Regions from separate parts of the Homo sapiens genome. Here region 1 is linked to region 2. The links are contacts of gene promoters, found by promoter capture Hi-C in human tissues and cell types (Jung and others, 2019). All regions are on one chromosome and are shown on one strand. The core of a region is centred on a gene start or on the middle of the fragment in contact, and the rest is flanking DNA. Distances in the headings are between cores, read along the strand shown.

Region 1 (2,700 bases), core at 99-2,598, 260 kb before region 2:
GCCACCTCCCCTGTCTGCATCCCACACCTCTCCTCCATGTTCCAGAATCCTATGCTCAATGTTGAGTTGCCCAAGATATTTGTATTCATTATTTTTTACTGTATAGTAAATTATCCCCCAAATCTAGTGGCTTATAAAAATAAACATTTGGCCAGGTGCGGTGGCTCATGCCTGTAATCCCAGCACTTTGGGAGGCTGAGGCAGACAGATCACTTGAGGTCAGGAGTTTGAGACCAGCCTGACCAACATGGTGAAACCTGTCTCTATCAAAAACACAAAATTAGCCAGGTGTGTTGGTGGGTGCCTGTAATCCCAGCTACTTGGGAGGCTGAGGCAGGAGAATCACTTGAACCCAGGAGGTGGAGGTTGCAGTGAGCCAAGACTATACCACTGCACTCCAGCCTGGGCAACAGAGCGAGATTCTGTCTCAAAAAAAAAAAAAAAGAATTTATCCTGAGAGTCAGGAGTTTGGGAGAGACCTACCTGGGTGGTTTGGGCTCAGAGTGTTTTGGGAAGCTGCAGTGAAGATATCAACCTGGGCCACAGTCATCTGAAGACTTGACTGGGCTGAAGGAATCGGTCTCCAATCTTGCTCATTCCCATACCTACTGCCTGGAAGTCTCACAACCTCATAGGTCTTTGGCAGGAGGTCTCAGTCCCTTGCCACACAGACCTCCCCACAGAGGAGCTCCAACATCCTCCAGAGTGAGCACCCCAAGAGAGGATGAGGAGGAAGGCACCCTACCTAGCCTCAGAAGTGATGTGTCATCACTTCTGTTGTATTTATTGGCCACACAAACCAATCCTGATGTGATGTGGGAGGGAACCATATGAGGACACGAATACAAGGAAGCAGGGATCATTCAGAGCCATGTGGGAAGCTGGCAGCCACAATACCTCAGACTTATCAGATCCACAAGTGAACTTTATTTTTTTTCTTTTTCTTTTTATTTATTATTATTATTATTATTATTATTTTGAGATGGAGTCTCGCTTCTTTGCCCAGGCTGGAGTGCAGTGGCGCGATCTCTGCTCACTGCAACCTCCGCCTCCCAGGTTCAAGCAATTCTCCTGCCTCAGCCTCTCAAGTAGCTGGGATTACAGGCACGTGCCAGCATGCCTGGCTAATTTTTGTATTTTTAGTAGAGACGAGGTTTCACCATCTTGGTCAGGCTGGTCTGGAACTCCTGACCTCAAGTGATCCACCCGCCTCTGCCTCCCAAAGTGCTGGGATTACAGGTGTGAGCCACTGTGCCCAGCCCACAAATGAACTTCCTTCTCCCCAGTCCTCCCTTCAAATCTGCTCCAAGCCATACATCTGGAAATTGTTCTTGATTCTTCCATCCTAAAATTACTCTGCAGTCAGTCACTGATTCCAGTCAATCTTTCCCTAAAATCACTGCAGTCTGTCTGCTTCTCTCCACTCCCATGTTCATTGCTTGGCCATGAACTTTTTCACCTGGATCATTTTGTTTCTCACTTAGTTTCCCTGCTTTATGTCTTACCTGCTGCCAATCCATTCTCCACACTGTTGCCAGAATGATCTTTACACATTTTAAACTCCTCTAAGGCTTGCTAAGAAACACGCTCCTTAGCGTGGGATACAAAGCCAGTGGCTGTAGCTCCCACCATGCCCATCTTTGAATACTTCTCTCCAGCCAAGATGTATTGTTTGCAGTTCCCAGAGGGTGTCAGCATAATTCACATCCCTAAGCTTTTTCATAGGCCGCTCCCTCTTTTTGGAATATGCCCTTCCACTTATCTCAACCAGGCTAACTCTGATTCATTCTTCAAAGCCCAGCAAGTTTTGAGAGCAGAAACTGTGTCTTGTCCTCTCTGTATCTCAGACCCTAATACAGTACCCACCATAGAGGAATTGCTCAACAAATGTGTGATGAGTGAACAAATGACCGGGCAGTTCTTGTGTGCCTGGCACCCCTGTGGCATGCTTGGCACACAGGAAGAGCAGGTCCACAGCTCAGTCACTTTCCCCCTCGGACTACCTTTCCCTGTCCAAATAGCTCCCTCTGCATCAGTAACACAGCTGGAAAAACAAATTGTGAATCATATCCAACTTCATTCCCTGTGACCTTGGGAAAGTCATTTATTGTCTCTAGTCTTCTTCTGCAATGAAGGTTAATAAAAAGATAAAGTGAATTACTTACATTAATGTTTATTGAGCCAGATACTGTGCTAGGCACTCATAAATAAATTCGCTTGAGGGGCCGGGCACATTGGCTCATGCCTGTAATCCCAGTACTTTGGGAGGCTGAGGCAGGCAGATCACTTGAGGCCAGGAGTTCAAAACCAGCCTGGCCAACGTGGCAAAACCCTGTCTCTACTAAAAATACAAAAAACTAGCTGGGCGTGGTGGCATGTGCCTGTAATCCCAGATACTCAAGAGGCTGAGGTGGGAGAATTCCTTGAACCTGGGAGGCAGAGGCTGCAGTGAGCCGAGTCATGCCAGTGCATTCCAGCCTGGGCGTCAGAGCCAAAATCCATTTCCAAAAAAAAAAAAAAAAAAATTGCCTTAGGGAGAGTCACAATATCCAAACGAGACAGGTTTTTAAATTTTATTTATTTAATTTTATTATTATACTTTAAGTTCTAGGGTAGTTGTGCACAACGTGCAGGTTTATTACATACGTATACATGTGCCATGTTGGTTTGCTGCACCCATTAACTCATTAGGTTCATTTA
Region 2 (2,700 bases), core at 155-2,654:
AAATTCTTCTGATAGTAAATTATAATGTTGACTCCAAAATCAATTCTAGATAAAGGCGATTAAATTGCAAACCCAGGATGCCTGTCTGAATGGTCCCTGCATTCAAAGATATTTTCCCCTTTACAGGAGCACCGGATAAATTTAACTCCCTAATCTGTCAAGGGCTTTGTGGAAGAGCCTGGAGGGGGATCGAAGGCGGAACTGATACTGACACACCTGGGTCTGCAAACTCCCAAAACTGAGGCTCAGAATTAGTAAATTAGGGCAGGGCACTTCCCTCTTTGGAAGGGAAGTTCCTATTTTCAAAGTTCTTCCAACGGAACTTTTACATTAGAGAAGTGTAATTGACTGAGAAGTGGAAGTGACCAGGAACAGCATTTCTGTTCCCTGGGCGGGAGAGAGAACCCCCTCGGGCGGAGCCAGCAGCAGGTCAGCTTCTGAGGGGGCCCTCATGCTGGCGGCGCCGACCTGTGGTGCAATGCTCTGAGTAGGAGAATCTTAAATACATGTTTGAGATTCAATTCCCAGAAACGTAACTAGTCTTCACAAGCCAAAAAAATAAAAATAAAAAATAAAAAAAGGAAGTGATTTCTTTTCAAGAGGTCAAAGGGCCTGGAAGAAGAGGTCCTGGCTTGAGTGTCTCAAGGCTTTCTGGGGCCTAATCCGGCTGGAATGGGCCGCAGCATTCATATTCCTGTCCTTGGTCGTGTCTTAATGAAGAATTGAAAATAATAAGGGGTGGAGAAATAACTTTCCTTTTTCTCCCACCATCCTCCCACAGTGTAAATAAACAAATAACTCTAAGCTCGATTTCCTCATTTGTCAGGGGTGGGGAAAGACTTGACATCAGGACTCTTCCATTCCATCGCCACCTGTCTTAATTTAAACATTCCCATGACCCACCCCAGAAGCGCCAACCTCCCGCCCACAAGGAGCATGGAAGTCTTGGTTTCTGGCTACTGCGCAGACTCCACCTTGGACCTACTCCCCAACCCCCCGCCGCTCCTTTCCCCGTTTCTCCAGCAGAGGGCGCAGGCCCAAAGGTTCCGCCGACCCCGCCCCAGCCTGGCCCCGCCCCGCCCCGGCGTAGGGGCGGGGAAGACGGGCACAGAAACCTGGCCGCGGCTTTCCGGGAGCTGTGGGCACGCGAGCTGCTCGAAGCCGGTGGCCCGGGGATCGTCGCTGCCCAGTCCGGCCGCGGCCGGCCGCTTCCCCGAGCTTACCAGTAAGCCGGTCCGCCTCCGGGACGCGCCCCGCCCGCCCCGGGCTCGCGCGCTCTGAAGGGGCGCGTCCCGCGCACTCCCGGCGCCGCCCACTCCCCTCCCCACGGCCGCTCCTCCCTCCGCCCGGATAGCCGGCGGCGGCGGCGGCGGCGGCGGCGGCGGCGGCCGGGAGAGGCCCCTCCTTCACGCCCTGCTTCTCTCCCTCGCTCGCAGTCGAGCCGAGCCGGCGGACCCGCCTGGGCTCCGACCCTGCCCAGGCCATGGCCGGCAACGTGAAGAAGAGCTCTGGGGCCGGGGGCGGCAGCGGCTCCGGGGGCTCGGGTTCGGGTGGCCTGATTGGGCTCATGAAGGACGCCTTCCAGCCGCACCACCACCACCACCACCACCTCAGCCCCCACCCGCCGGGGACGGTGGACAAGAAGATGGTGGAGAAGTGCTGGAAGCTCATGGACAAGGTGAAAGGCCGGCTGAGCGCCCGCTGTTGCAGGGTGGGCGTGGGCGGAGGGCCGCGGGGAGGGGAACGAGCGGACGGAGGAAGCGGGGGAGGGGACGGGTCTGGTGAAGCCGGGGAGGCGCGGAGCCGGGGTGACCGGCCGGGGGCGTGGGGGCAGGGACGAGGCCGGGAGGGTGGGGGGCGGCGTGGGGGAGGGGCTGCCGTTGGGAGTCGGGGAACGCTGGGGTGCCGCGTTTGGGGTAGCCAGACAAAGATGGAGTGGGGGCTGGGGCGAAGGTTAACTGGGAAGTCAGTGGGGCGGAAGTACAATGAGGGGTGCGGAGTTTGGGGCTCTGTGCAGGGTGTAGGGATGTAGGTCACGGAATTGGCCTGGGAGGTTAGCAGGGAGGGGGTGAGGAAGAGTGATGTACCGGCTGGGGCTCTTGGCTGGGTGAGATCTGACTAGGGAATTAGGTTCATGGGCTCTGACTGAGGAACCTGGCTGGGGTCAGGACAGCTCTCAGGGAAGCTGTGCTCTGGGTGAGAGTATAGTCCTTTCTCATTAAGATGTAACACGAAGATAAAAGACATATTGATGTTTAAGTGAGGCAAGGAAAGAACTTTCCTCCCCATCTAGCGCCGGCTCAAGTTTTTTGTTACCCTCAGAAACACTGGATGTGATCCATTGCTGGTGCTGAGATATGCACTGATTAAACCACAAGTTCTGGTTAGAACTATTATCTTCTGAAAGATGGACTGGCTGAGCCTGTTAAGCAGCAGCAGATTCTGACTTCTTAATAACTTCCTCCCTACTACATCGCTTGAGCTGGGTTCTTTTTTTCTGGTAACGGTTCTGACTCCTTATTACAGGTCCTGACTTTAAACTTGTTCGTTGAGCTTCTTTGATTACGCTTTTTTGTTTGTTTGCTTTTTGCAAGTGCGAACAAAAATAACTCCTTTATATTTAGCCACTAAGTTTGTCATTTGGGAGAATTTTACTTCCTTATAGTTGTGTCTATATGATGAAATGTAGTCAGTCTCAAG

The links. The method cuts DNA at HindIII sites, captures the fragments that hold promoters and counts their contacts. A contact is called where the count stands out against the background at its distance.
Region 1: a contact is called between a fragment that was not itself captured here and the fragment with the promoter of CBL in region 2, in 2 of the 25 tissues and cell types used here (liver and spleen).

Annotation. Positions count from the first base shown.
Region 1 is chr11:118,946,515-118,949,214 of GRCh38, forward strand. No RefSeq gene overlaps it. Among named protein-coding and RNA genes, the nearest start is that of UPK2, 8.4 kb to the right of the region's middle. The HindIII fragment of the contact is 7,281 bases long and covers 1-2,700 here.
Region 2 is chr11:119,204,935-119,207,634 of GRCh38, forward strand. CBL (Cbl proto-oncogene) reads left to right here and starts at 1,405. Exons shown (of 16, transcript NM_005188.4): 1 at 1,405-1,678. The coding sequence starts at 1,484. RefSeq lists silencers at 913-982, 1,023-1,412, 1,483-1,672, 1,863-1,922. The HindIII fragment of the contact is 26,271 bases long and covers 1-2,700 here.